5 separate regions of the Homo sapiens genome follow, and regions 1, 3, 4 and 5 are each linked to region 2. The links are contacts of gene promoters, found by promoter capture Hi-C in blood cells and fetal thymus (Javierre and others, 2016). All regions are on one chromosome and are shown on one strand. The core of a region is centred on a gene start or on the middle of the fragment in contact, and the rest is flanking DNA. Distances in the headings are between cores, read along the strand shown. Region 1 overlaps PGAP3 (post-GPI attachment to proteins phospholipase 3). Region 2 holds the start of PSMD3 (proteasome 26S subunit, non-ATPase 3). Region 3 has its middle 70 kb from the start of NEUROD2. Region 4 has its middle 32 kb from the start of NEUROD2. Region 5 overlaps TOP2A (DNA topoisomerase II alpha).

Region 1 (2,700 bases), core at 75-2,574, 300 kb before region 2:
CAAGGCAGGGACCCCCATTTGCTCACATCCATTTCACCTTTGGGAAGGGGCTCTGCAGGACAAGAAATGTGCTTTTCCTGCCCCTGGAGCCCTCTGAACAAACCTATGTCCCTCTACCCCCACCCAGCCAGGGTCCCTGGGGTGGACTTCCTGCCACCCCAAACCCCCAAGGCCACGGGGGGCTGCAGCCTCCACAGGTTCCGGCCTGGCCTGGGAACCAGTTCCGGTATAGCCAAGCTCCCTAGTTACTCAATTGCTAAGACAACAGCCCCCAGGGGCCTTGCCTCCTCCTCCAACCGGCAGGTGTTGACAGCACCACCCCACCCGGGCCCAGGGGAGCCAGTGACCTCAGCCTCTGGGGGCGGGAATGAGGTGGGTGGGGTGGAGGGGCTCGAGCCAGCTTGGGGTGTGTTCCAAGCAGCAGGGGAGGGAGATCAAGCAGATCCCACTGGGGCACAGGCTCCCAGGAGGAGGGTGAACCAAGCCCAGCTTCCTCCTGGCTGGGCCTGCCCAACCCGCCAGACCAGTGGCTGCTCCCGAGCCTGGGAGGAGTAGAGGGCAGGACTGGAGGGGCTGTGGTGGGCCAGGGCCCAGGGGAATGTTTGAGGCCTTCTTCCTGGAAATTAGCTGCGTGGAGAGAGCACAAAAGTTATCTAGCGAATGAGCCTAAGAGCTTGTGGGCGTTGGTGCTGGCACTTTCTTCAGGGACTGCTGTGTCCACAGCAAAGGCCCAAACTGCTGAAAGCAGGGTGGGCTGAAGGGAAGGGCTGGGAAATCGTGACAACCAAAGGAACAGCAGGCCAGGCCGGGAATGGCCTGGAGGTGGGGAGGGATGCGCTAGGGTGGGACAGGCCTGGCGGAGATGAGGAAAGGCCAGGAACTGCTCAGTTGGCTCCAATGTACCAGGAAAACTGGCCAGGCAGGGGACAGAGGGAGGGGGCAAGAAGCTACACTCTGTCTGGCACTGTAGCAGGCAGGTCAGACAGTAAGATGCATTCCAAATGCAGGTCTGGGGAGCTCAGGAGAGAATGGGAGGAGAAGGGGTACAGGCGGGGCAGAACTGCTGCACAGCCAGTCAGGTTCTCGGGGTGCCAAGCTCTGGAAGGCGCAAGGCTGCCTAGTGCCCCTGTCTGGCCTGGGCTCTGGGCTGAGCCTTGCTGCTTCTGCTCCTCTTGACCTGGTCAAAGGGCCCTGCCCTTCTCAGCCCAAGCTTCCCCCGGGACAAATCATGGCTCAAGTGAAACTTCAGTTCCTTTCCAGCCTGGCGTTAGGTGGTGTGGTCTAGGGCAGGCTGCTTCCTCCTTTGAGGATGGCCACTCTGTCCCTTCCACCAGACTCAAGGCTCTGCCCTGCTGCAGCCCCCTCCCCAGAGACAGGCATGGAGGCTGCACAACAGGACTGAACCTGGTGGCTTCTCAGACACTGCTCCCACAGTCTGAAAAGCTTAGAGTCAGCATGGGGAGAGGAGCAGGCTTGGGCTGGAGACGGGACCCAGGCAATCACATGGACCAGTTCTCCCTGGCAGGCCAGGAACAGGGACATCCTTAGGGAGGAGAGTGGCCCTGGAGCCAATGTGGGAAGGAGAAGAGGAAGGCGGCAGGGACTGGCAGCCAGCCAGGCCTCCTTGTCACCCACAGCAGGAAGGGGGAGGTGAGAAGAGGACTGCAGGACTGAGCTAAGTGGCTCAGAACACCGAAAGCAGGGGGTGTGTGTGCGGGCAAACATATGCGTAGGGCCACAGGATGGGTGGGGCTGCTGGGTCCCCTCTCCAACCGCCTCCCTGGGTGCCTTCCACTCACAGAGACCCACCTGAAGCCTGGCCTCTGCACCCCTGAAAAGCCCCTCCCCCCTGGGGAGCATCCCACTCTGGGGGTGCTCCTCTTCTCACCCTTTCCTCAGATTTGGGAGGTAGTGGTATCATTAAGAATGCAAGCCCTACAGCCAGACTGCCAGGGTTCAGTTCCTGGCTCTGCATTTCCTGTGTGTCCTTGGGCAAGTTATTTAGCCTTGCTGTGCCTCAGTTTTCTCATCTGCAAAATGGGAATAATCATAGTTGATAAGGGTTTAATGAGCAATACAAATACAGCGTACAGCACAGAGCCCAGGACAGGCTGAAACATGAGTGTTCTCTCCACTTGCCTGACCAGCACAGAACCCCGTCAGCTTCCCATAGAACTGAGGCCTAAGAGGATGTCTGCCTCCCACTCTCCCTGCAGGCCAAGGATGTTTAGGCAGATAAGGGGTGGTCTCCTAGCTGCCTAGGCCCACCTCCACAGCTCCAGGCTGGGGGAAGAGTGTCCAGTCTTCACAATGAGACAGAGTCTGCATTCAAGTCCTGCCTCAGCCCCTACGCAGCTGTGTGACCTTGGACACATAACCCAGTATGTGTGAGCCTCCACTGCCTCACCTACAAAACAGGTTCATAATGATGCTCACTGCACAGGAGGCCATGAGGACGAGGTCTGCGGAATGCCTGGCACCAAGGAACTCCTCTGAATGGCTGCTGGTTTTGCTGCCTGGTCCATAGTAGGTGCCCATCAATGTCAGTTTCCTTCATCAGGTCCAGTAGACTGACTCTCACCACGCCCGTTCACCTGCCCCTCAACTTCCCTTTCCGCAAGGGTCACAAAGTTTGAGGTCAAACTATGGGGCCTCAGGGTCTCTCCATTCCAGAACGGAGACACCTCAGCTATAGGAAGA
Region 2 (2,700 bases), core at 118-2,617:
AAGTCCTGTTATCCACCCCCCAGCCCTGGAGGGTGAGAGGACAGTTGAGGAGGAACTGGTCAAGGCATGTTCCCTAAAACTAGAGCACATATCTTTCCAGTTAGCGAGTGGCTGTTTAACGCAAGGAACATCCTGCAATCCTATGAAAGAGGATGCAAAAGATATGCAGGATACCCTTTATATATGCAAAGGAGGAGGTCAAAACATATTTCCTGCCTTCTAGGTCCTTACAACAGGGCTAGATTGTCTTGTAGGGTCCGTGAAAGGTCTAAAACTCAGGACTTCCACTTATGGGAGAGAGAAAAGTTTCAAGGTAGGGAGAGAGTTTTTGTTGTGTGTTCTAAGAAATTGGGAGCTATATCCTTCACCTTGTTTCACCTTCCCTGCAGAACCAGTGGGGCAGTCCTTTGAAAAATAAGTGGGTAGGGTTTCTTGTCCAATTTGCTTCCCCTTAGGTACACCACTAAGTAAACCATCATTCTCTCCTTAGGCACACCATTATTCTGTTCCCCATTTCACAATGTCTGTCTGGATGTATAAAAGCCCTCTCAATGGGCTCCCTAAAGCGTCTGCCAGTAGGGGCTCCCACCCTCTTTCCTCAACACTCCCAATCCACCGCAGCCCAGAGCACAGTGTCTGCTTATCTAACCATCTGACTCCCCCGTATACTACATTCTTGAGCTGTTTTTCACCCCCCTATTTGCTAACCGTGGGCCGTACATAGGGTGGACCCCTATATTTTGTTAAACTGGAGTGATTCTACGCAAATGCACGCTCCTACCTATCGGCACTCCCAGCCTGCAGAAATTGTATGCCTTATGTTCAGCACTAAACTCAAATCTAACCAAGGAAGTCCGGATCCCATAGGGTTCTTCCTACTCTCCAGTTCGGTTTATTTTAAGGCCAACAGCCCTAGCTTCACGTCCCTCCTTCACAGCCTTCTTTCCTTCCCTCCTGCCGGATGCGCCCGGCAGCCGTTGAGCACAAGCCCAGCGGATCTGGAAGGAGACCCCGCCGCGACCGGGGAAAATTGAGCGAACTTGGGCGCAAAACCCGCCCGGCAACTCGTGACGTCATCTCGTCCCGCGCTCGGATAGGCTGTACCCACTCCACGCTGGTTGAGGCGCTCTTAAAGTCCTTTGTAACCCAGATTGGAGCCTGAGGGGACCTCTCGTGGACGCCCACAGAAATGCACTCGAGAGGAACATAAAAGCATCACACTTAAGCGCTCGAAAGAAAGCCCCACGAACCCATAAAGGCTCCTCCCCGCTCCTTCCTCGAAGCTCCTCCTTCATCCTGCACCTCGGCTGTGGATTTATTTCCCCTTTGTTGACTCGGCCATCGGCCTGCCGGGCCTGGCGTTTCCCAGAAGGCCCAGCGCCGGGAAGGGGTTTGCAGCTGCTCCGTCATCGTGCGGCCCGACGCTATCTCGCGCTCGTGTGCAGGCCCGGCTCGGCTCCTGGTCCCCGGTGCGAGGGTTAACGCGAGGCCCCGGCCTCGGTCCCCGGACTAGGCCGTGACCCCGGGTGCCATGAAGCAGGAGGGCTCGGCGCGGCGCCGCGGCGCGGACAAGGCGAAACCGCCGCCCGGCGGAGGAGAACAAGAACCCCCACCGCCGCCGGCCCCCCAGGATGTGGAGATGAAAGAGGAGGCAGCGACGGGTGGCGGGTCGACGGGGGAGGCAGACGGCAAGACGGCGGCGGCAGCGGCTGAGCACTCCCAGCGAGAGCTGGACACAGTCACCTTGGAGGGTACGGCAGCCCAGGCCGGGAACGTGCCGCGATCGCGGGTGACAGCGACCCCTGTGATTTGGCTTCTTGCTGGGAAGCCACAGCAGCCTCCACCACCCTCAGTTCTTTGGGATCACCCCCAGATACCTGCTCCCACTGCCCCGACACTCCCGACTCCAGGCCCAATGACTGAACCTTCTCTCCAGGCTGGGAACCACTCCCCTCCCATCCCCTCCATCCCCATATCTGGGGTTGCATCTATATCTAGGTCCCAGTGGGCCTGGGGACTCCCTCTTTTAAGTCCTCCCCTCTGACCTATTCCGTTTATATCCCACCCGACTGATTTTAGCGCCTCCAATATATGACTGATTGTTCCCGCTGGAAACCAGTGTTTGTGTCTGTGTGTAAACAGGGCCAGGATGACCTAGAATATTGACTCCTGAGTTTTAAAACTGTACAGCAGATTTTTGTTGTCCTAGCTGCCTTTAGCACACTCCCCCGAATGAACCATTTCGACCTAGTATCTTGTTTCCTACTTCTCTAACTGAAGTGTCCCAACAGTCCCCTTGCTGTCTCCTCCCTTCAGGTCCTTACTGCCCCTCTGTTTCTAAAGGGTTTAAGTACATACACACTTAAAACTTTTCGGGTGTCATCTTTGTTTGGTTTTGTAATACTCAACCTTTGGCCTAAACTCCTATATACCGGTGTCTCCTATTTCTTTTCTCCGAGGTTCCTGTTTCGAGTGTCTGTAGTCCTCTTGTTCCTCCAAGTTCATGTTTTACTTTTCCCACTTACAGCGTCCTGTTTCCATTTGAAGTGGGCAAAGTGAGAGCTTCCCACTGTGATCCTGGTGCCATTTTCCTGGTTCTGGATCAAGTGGGACCAGACTACTTACTAGGTTTTCTTTTCACTAAAATGCGTGAGAAACTAGCTCAAAAACATTGAGATAAGCAAAGTTATCCTCCTAGGT
Region 3 (2,700 bases), core at 201-2,700, 440 kb before region 2:
CCAAACCAACCCTGAGGGAGGCAGCATGAAGAAACCTTTAAGAAGTCCACCATATAGCAGTCAGAGCTAAGTAAAGAACAAAGTCTGAGTCTTGGAGGATGTCTTTTCTCTACCTAAGGGGCCTATCTGATGGACTCTCTAGGAGGGGATCCTTCTCCCTCCTCAGTCTCAGAACTACAATAGTGCCTAATGAGGGACACCCTTGGTGAGGATCAGCTTGTAGATGACCCTCCTCACCAAGGCTAATGCAATTTTGAATGCATTTGGACCTGGAGAAAACAGGCTGAATTCAAAGACCTAAAGAAAGCTTAGTAGCCTGGTCCCTTTTTTAAAGTCTGGAACTTTTTAGTTTGGCCTTATACTAGTGTTAATATTTATAATTTCTGTTAGGGGACCAAAAGTCTCAGAAAATGAAGCAATATAAGAGGTGGAAATAAGGGTAAGAAGGGAGAACTAGAAGAGTCTGGTAGCTGGGCTGCAGAAAGAGACTTGGGGTATAATTCCTTATTTTTATTTATTTATTTATTTATTTATTTATTTATTTATTTATTTTTGAGATGGACTTGCTCTTCTTGGAGTGCAGTGGTGTGATCTCGGCTCACTGCAGCCTCCACCTCCCAGGTTCCAGCAATTCTCCTGTCTCAGCCTCCCAAGTAGCTGGGATTACAGGTGCGTGCCACCATGCCCAGCTAATTTTTTGTATTTTTAGTAGTGACAGGGTTTCACCATGCTGGCCAGGCTGGTCTTGAACTCCTGACCTTGTGATCCACCCGCCTCGGCCTCCCAAAGTGCTCGGCCTCCCAAAGTGAGCCACCGCGCCCAGCTTGGATATAATTGCTTATAAAGAAGAGAGGGATACAGGATGGAAGGAAAAATTATGGTTGAGTTAGTGAAATTTATAGGATAATTTTCTTAGAGATTCACAGTTCATTTCAGGAAGACCCCATTAAAGCACCAATACTGAGTAAAGAATTCCCCTTAATTACAGTAGTCTTACCTTTAGGGTTGGAGGATGGGCCAAGAACCCCTAGGATACTATGAAGACATTTTCTGTAGGGAAACTAGAAAAGATGGGCAAATATGTTAAGCAATATGTAAGGACATTTACTTAACACTGTTATCTACATAGTTCAAGAGAGTAATTCAAGAATAAGGAGGAATGACATGGATGCATCACATTAAACAGTTATTTGTATTGTTTGAATTTCAAAACTCCTGCAAGTGGTTTTAGGTATGCTAAGTCAACCTAGAGACTAGTAGTATTCCTCTGCCACTCATTTTAGATCCAAATGATGGCAGTGCATAGAAGAACAAACGAGAATATGCGAATTAGAGTCACAGAATGTTAGAGCTACAAAAGAAGATTAGTTTGTTTGGTTCAGTACCATCTTTAACCAGTAAAAAATGCCCAGAAAGGCCGAGGAACATGTATGGTGTTGCGAGAAAGAAGGGAGAGAAAGGGAACTAACATTGTTGGGTACCTGCTATGTGTCAGGCGCTGCCTAAGTGCTTTGTTTTTATCTTGATTGATTAGCACCTTGAGGCTAAGGGATAGAATGAATAAATGGCAAACCCCGGCTACCTGGGAGCGGTGGCTCACGCCTGTAATCCCAGCACTTTGGGAGGCCAAGGTGGGTGGATCACGAGGTCAGGAGATCGAGACCATTCTGGCTTACACGGTGAAACCCCATCTCTACTAAAAATACAAAAAATTAGCCAGGCGTGGTGGCACAAGCCTGTAGTCCCAGCTTCCCGGGAGGCTGAGGCAGGAGAATTTGCTTGAACCCAGGAGGTGGAGGTTGCAGTGAGTGAAGATTGCGCCACTTCACTCCAGCCTAGGCGACAGAATGAGACTCCATCTCAAATAAATACATACATACATACATACATACATACATACATACATACATACATACATAAGGCTAGTATCCTGAGCAATATGTAGGAGATAAAAGGGAGTGGTAGACCACGTTTTTCTCTCTAACCACACAGGGCTAAACTAGAGGAAGTAAAGAGTCAGCATTTGAGAGTGAGGTTAATCTAAGGAAGTATTTGCCAAACTGTTGAAAGCGACTCATAAATAACTTCTCCATTCCTAGAGACCTTCCAAAACATGTTGATAAGAGTTAGGACTGATAGGGACCAAGATTACTCTTGGCTCTGGAATTGATTTTCATTTTGGAAAATCAAGTCATGACCTGAGAATGTGGGATTAATTGTACAAATAGGAAACAAAATGGAGCTTCTCATCCTAAAATGTCTTCAAAGAGAATAGTATTTATCTACCATGAATGAAGGAGATAAATTCCTTTGGTGACTGTACTTGTTTTTTTGTTTTGTTTTGTAACACTTTGAAGTCATGAAACTGAATTTGTAATCTTGGGGAGATTCAGTGCCAAGTTCAAGGCAGGTGGCAATTTGAAAATTGACAGAATAAGATTGTGTTCCTCATGGTTGTTTGATATAATATCCCAATAGTTATACCATGAGGGCTGCTTCAGTGGGGAGCATTAATATCATTAGCAGAGGCATGTCCTGTGTACAGACAGGACAACCTCTGAGGAAGAAGACTGGGGGAGGGTCCCACCTTCAGGAAGCTTCTGGGTCTTGTGAGAGAGGTCAGTCTTACAGCTGGTGGAGAGTGGGGAATCTGTAAGTCAACATATCAATGCAGGTTGTAATATAAAACTATTATAATAA
Region 4 (2,700 bases), core at 110-2,609, 410 kb before region 2:
CAGGGGCAGGGTCTGGACCCAACCAACACAGGACACCCCGCAAGGATCTAAGCTTAAAGGAAGGCCAGGAGTCTGTGTGAGGGAGAGGACCTTTTCCCCAGAATCCAGCATGGTGTGCCCACCCCACGCCCAAACCAAGTACTGACACCTTAAAAAGAGCATCTGGGCCGGGTGCGGTGGCTCCCGCCTGTAATCCCAACACTTTGGGAGGCCGAGGCGGGCGGATCATGAGGTCAGGAGTTCGAGACCAGTCTGGCCAACATGGTGAAACCCCGCCTCTACTAAAAATACAAAAAAAAAAAATAGCTGGGCGTGGTGGCGGGCGCCTGTAATCCCAGCTACTCTGGAGGCTGAGGCAGGAGAATCGTTTGAACCCGGGAGGCAGAGGTTGCAATGAGCCAAGATTGCACCATTGCATTCCAGCCTGGGCAACAAGAGCAAAACTCCGTCTCAAAAAAAAAAAAAAAAAAAAAAAAAAAAAAAAAAAAAAAAAAGAGCATCTGGGGCCAGAACTGAGATTGGAGCATCTACTTAGTTCCGCCACTTGGTTTGTAGCCTGGGCAAGTCGCTTTACCTTTCTTAGCCATGGCTTATCCATCTATACAATAGGGATAAGCCAGTTGCCAATGACTAAATGGGATAATATGTAATGTGTAGATGGCAGGACCTTAAGTCCTCTGGCAAAAAGAAGAAAGGGAGATAAGGGGCTGACCTCTATCCCTGCTGCTGTTTTGGGTGGATACCTTGAGGGAGGTGAGTCTTCTCCATATGCTTAAATCCCTGCTTAACTGGAAGATTACCTCAAACCTTCCAGCCAAAGCCGCCCCATTGTCACAGTAGAGGGGCAAAACTGCTCTTTACCTCATTGGCATTGCACGGATTCAATATCTAGGTTTACACCAGGCTCTCTACTACTGTCCTTCTCTCCTTGGGTCCTCTCTTCCCACAATCCCTGACAGTCTCCCTCTCGTGCCTTGCCCCTGTCCTGTCCAAGGGCCAGACCTGGGAAGTTTCTTCCATAGACTCCAACCTTTGATCCCTCTCAGCCCTGGGAAAGAGGGAACTGGTGGAGAATTTGAGGCCGTTTAATGTATACCTGTCATGCTTGTGAATGTGATCTGAGCCTCTCTGGCAACTTCAGTGTCTATCTCAGGGCCTGTTTCCTCTTCTGTAAATTCATTATTCTTGCAACCCACATTGACTGGGTGACAACAGCAGGGCAGCATGGTGCACCCAGCAGGTTGGGAGTATGGAAAAAACACAGGATGGAAAGAACTCCACTGAGGCCGGGCTCGGTGGCTAATGCCTGTAATCCCAGGACTTTGGGAGGCCGAGGTGGGCAGATCGCCTGAGGTCAGGAGTTGAAGACCAGCCTGGCCAACATGGTGAAACCTCGTCTCTACTAAAAATACAAAAAGTAGCCAGGCATGGTGGTGCGCACCTGTAATCCCAGCTACTCAGGAGGCTGAGGCACGAGAATCACTTGAACCCGGGAGGCAGAGGTTGCAGAGAGCTGAGATCGTGCCACTGCACACTGCAGCCTGGGTGACAGAGTGAGACTCCATCTCAAGAAATAAAACCCCACTGTGAAACTACTGATCTGGGGACAACAGACCAATGCACACAGCAGGCTCTCCAATACTAGGGGTCGGTGCAGGGACACCTCCCAGATTCTAGAGCATTCCACAGTGTCATGATGCTTCCTCCTGTCCTTCCTGAGTACAGCAGACTCTTCCCCTAGACTTCTGTCAGAGGCTAATTCATTTCCTACGGGAAAAGACATCCTAAAATTTGAGTCTGGGGCTTTTGTTCATTCCCTTTTGTTGGAATTCCCTATTTTTACACCAGTCATCCAGTATCTTTATATTCAAAGGGAAAACACAATAAAAATACTTCCAGTTTGCCAGTAGCCAGAATCAGGTTAGCTCATGTATCTAGGTTTGCAAAGCTGCCCAGGACCTTTGTTCAGTGTGGCCCTGTGTGTGGCTGCCTTAGTCTACCCACTGGCCTGTCTGCCCACCCATCCCTGGCTGGCCTGCCCTATCTTCAGCGCCTATAGCCCTCAGCTCCACTTCCTATTAATACAAACCATGTGGGACCCTCACTGTGGCGTCTCCAGGCAAAAGATGAAGCCACAGCCGCCTAGTGGCTGCCAGGGAGGCTGGCAGGAAGGGGCATCTCTACCCGGCGTCTCCTGGGAAACAGCGAGCTCCCCAGAGAAGGGACATTTGGAAATAAAATTTCTGCCGTTGTGTGTCAATGTGTGTGTTGAGGCAGGAGAGGGAGTTAAGAAGCCTCCCCAGCCCCTCTGTTCCTTTCTCCTCAGGAAAAGCCTCTTGGAGCAACTCTCCCACTGCCTCCCAAAACTCCAGCCCCTTGTAGGCTCTCCTGGGACTGGACAAGTGGCTGAAAATGTTCCTTCAGATTCATGATGCAGGTGAAGAAGAGCACTGGACTGAGAGTCAGAGGCCCCAGTTCTGAGCTTCCTGACTTACCCCGTGGCTCTGGCCTGTTATACCTCCCTTTCTGAGTCCTAAGTTCCTCCTCTGTAAAATGAAATTTTTTCATCATTCCTGGTCTCTACATTGGGCCTCCTCCACAAAGTCCAGGAATATAGTTGGGGCATTCTAGGCCATTCTTTCCTATACTTAGGACAGATAACTAATAGAAGCTTATAATTCCTAGAGTGACCTTGACTCT
Region 5 (2,700 bases), core at 61-2,560, 430 kb after region 2:
CTAAAATAAAAATATACATATTAATATTAGCACATTTAGTTCAACCTCAAATATACTAACTTGAACATGCTGTTTATAGCCTTGTGATAAAACACAATTTACTATATAATGAGCAAAATTATTTGTTAGGTAATAGATCATAATATAAACATTCTTGTTTTATACTCCAAAATAATCACCTCAATATTATTTATAACATGGAAATGACCTAAATCTTCCATAATAGGAAACGGGCCGATTTTTAACAAGTTATTCTGTTGAATATAGTTATTCTGTCAAGGGAAAAATAAATATCCGTGGTATGCCATTAATGAATAAAATAACAACTATAAGACTTAAAAGTTTGGAAACATTATTAAATATATACCTGCATCATTGGCATCATCGAGTTTGGGAATTCCCTTGATTCTATTATGTTTTACAGCTGAACACTTCTTGTTTAACTGGACTTGGGCCTTAAACTTCACCCAGTTTAGTATGCTTTCTACAATACCACAGCCAATGGCCTGAAAACGAGAAGATTCATATTAGGGATCATATTAGGGAAGAAGGGATCTATCAGAAATCTAGAATACAAATGAGCCTTAATACAAATAAAAATGATTCAAAAATTAAAAAGATGTAGAACAATAATTTCTGGATAGAGGGTGGCACATCTTCCCATGTCAGGTTATCACCACTGAGGGAGCTGCTCCTTTTGGTTCATTCGTTCAATAAATATTTACTATATAATTATATTGTGCTAGCACTGAGCTACTTGTTGGAGATATAGTGGTTAAAACAAATTAGACCAGGCACGGTGGCTCACGCCTATAATCCCAGCACTTTAGGAGGCCAAGGTGGGCAGAACACCTGAGGTCAGGAGTTTGAGACCGGCCTGGCCAACATGGCGAAACCCCGGCTCTACTAAAAATACAAAAATTAGCTGGCGTGGTGGTGGGCACCTGTAATTCCAGCTACTCGGGAGGCTGAGGCAGGAGAATCGCTTGAACCCAGGAGGTAGAGGTTGCAGCGAGCCAAGATCGCACCATTGCACTCCAGCCTGGGTGACAAAAGTGAAACTCCGTCTCAAAAAAAAAAAAAAAAAAAAAAAAAAGGGTAGCCAGGCATGGTGGTGGTGAAATGGCTGTAATCCTAGCTGCTTGGGAGGCTGAGGCAGGAGAATTGCTTTAACCTGGGAGGCGCGGGTTGCAGTGAACTGAGATCAAGCCACGGCACTCCAGCCTGGGAAACAGTGAGAAGCTGTCTCCAAAAAAAAAAATTAAAAATAAATAAATAAAATTAGACACAAATAAAACAAATTGAGACACTTGTCCTCATCAAGTTTAAGACACAACATAGAAGACAGACATAGCTGGGTGCAGTGGCTTACGCCTGTAATCACAGCACTTTAGGAGGCCGAGGATGGTGGATCAAGTGAGGCCAGGAGTTCAAGACCAGCCTGGCCAACATGGTAAAACCCCATCTCTATTAAAAATACAAAAATTAGCTGGATGTGATGGTGCATGTCTGTAATCCCCGCTACTCAGGAGGCTGGAGAATCCCAGCTACTCAGGAGGCAAGGAGAATCGCTTGAACCTGGGAGGCAGAGATTGCAATGAGCCAGGATTACGTCACTGCACTGTAGCCTGGGCAACACAGCAAGACTCTGTCTCAAAAAAAAAAAAAAAAAAGACTGGGCACAGTGGCTCATGGCTGTAATCCCAACACTTTGGAAGGCCGAGATGGGTGGATCATTTGAGGTCAGGAGTTTGAGACCAGCCTGACCAACATGGTGAAACCCTGTCTCTACTGAAAATACAACAACAAAAAAATTAGCCAGGCATGGTGATGCATGCCTGTAATCTCAGCTACTCGGGAGGCTGAGGCAAGAGAATCACTGAAACCTAGGAGGCGGAGGTTGCAGTGAGCCGAGATCGTGCCACTGCATTCCAGCCTGGGCGACAGAGCGAGACTCTGCCTAAAAAAAAAGACAGAAATAAAATAAGTTACAGTGTTATAAGTGTTATGGATAAGCAAAAAGTTTGCTAATAAGGTATGTTCAATATTATATTGGAACCAACTTAGGTGGGGGGAAGGGTAGAAAGTAAAGGCTTTCCTGAGGAAAGGACAAGACCTAAAGTAGCCAGGTGAAAAGGATGTATTTCATGCAGAGGGATTAGCATGTGAATAAACTCTGAGGAGGGGAAGAGCACTGTGCTTTTCAGTAATTTAAAAGCAACAGGACAATATACGAAAAACTGGCACTGAGATGAGTTGGAGAAGTAGGTGTAATTAGATTACAGCAGATCTTTCTTGTTGGCCAAATTATGGAATTTGGACTTTCCCTGAGTGGAAGTCATTGAAAGATTTCAAATGAGAGTGAAGATAAAAATGGGTGTTTTAACACAAAAGTCACTCAAAAGCATTCCAAGGAAAGGACTTAACCAGTATGAAGGTTAAGAACCTATTGTAGTAAACCAAAAAAGAGATAATGGTGAGAAGCTACTGCAGCATCCAAGAGATGATTCTTATTGACCGGATTAGAGAGGAGGGGAAATAAAGGAAGGCTCCCAGCTTTCTTGTTTATACAACCTAGAGGTTGGTTGGGGCTTTTTACTAAGATAGGAAGTTGTTTTTTTGTTGGAGAGTGGGGGGCTGCTTGTATGGGCAAATCAGTGAGTATGGAGGTAACAAATTCAATTTTGGATGTGTTGACTG

The links. The method cuts DNA at HindIII sites, captures the fragments that hold promoters and counts their contacts. A CHiCAGO score of 5 or more calls a contact.
Region 1: a fragment that was not itself captured here is called in contact with the fragment with the promoter of PSMD3 in region 2 in 2 of 17 cell types (activated CD4 T cells and naive B cells); the score reaches 5.8 in activated CD4 T cells.
Region 3: a fragment that was not itself captured here is called in contact with the fragment with the promoter of PSMD3 in region 2 in 3 of 17 cell types (naive B cells, total B cells and naive CD4 T cells); the score reaches 8.6 in naive B cells.
Region 4: a contact is called between a fragment that was not itself captured here and the fragment with the promoter of PSMD3 in region 2, in 1 of 17 cell types (naive B cells). The highest score is 5.3, in naive B cells.
Region 5: a fragment that was not itself captured here is called in contact with the fragment with the promoter of PSMD3 in region 2 in 1 of 17 cell types (neutrophils); the score reaches 5.2 in neutrophils.

Annotation. Positions count from the first base shown.
Region 1 is chr17:39,674,726-39,677,425 of GRCh38, forward strand. The region is part of intron 3 of PGAP3 (post-GPI attachment to proteins phospholipase 3); the gene reads right to left. Among named protein-coding and RNA genes, the nearest start is that of PNMT, 7.6 kb to the left of the region's middle. RefSeq lists enhancers at 1-516, 146-2,700, 517-1,062, 1,063-1,608 and a silencer at 1,767-1,826. The HindIII fragment of the contact is 233 bases long and covers 1,209-1,441 here.
Region 2 is chr17:39,979,440-39,982,139 of GRCh38, forward strand. PSMD3 (proteasome 26S subunit, non-ATPase 3) reads left to right here and starts at 1,368. Exons shown (of 12, transcript NM_002809.4): 1 at 1,368-1,751. The coding sequence starts at 1,532. RefSeq lists enhancers at 1-377, 799-978, 1,199-1,478, 1,279-2,256 and a silencer at 1,659-1,708. The HindIII fragment of the contact is 5,666 bases long and covers 1-2,700 here.
Region 3 is chr17:39,537,037-39,539,736 of GRCh38, forward strand. It overlaps a transcript of CDK12 not described here. Among named protein-coding and RNA genes, the nearest start is that of NEUROD2, 70 kb to the right of the region's middle. The HindIII fragment of the contact is 2,290 bases long and covers 306-2,595 here.
Region 4 is chr17:39,574,249-39,576,948 of GRCh38, forward strand. No RefSeq gene overlaps it. Among named protein-coding and RNA genes, the nearest start is that of NEUROD2, 32 kb to the right of the region's middle. RefSeq lists an enhancer at 308-882. The HindIII fragment of the contact is 2,619 bases long and covers 51-2,669 here.
Region 5 is chr17:40,408,125-40,410,824 of GRCh38, forward strand. It overlaps TOP2A (DNA topoisomerase II alpha), which reads right to left. Exons shown (of 35, transcript NM_001067.4): 11 at 368-506. Among named protein-coding and RNA genes, the nearest start is that of TOP2A, 8.4 kb to the right of the region's middle. The HindIII fragment of the contact is 2,913 bases long and covers 1-2,700 here.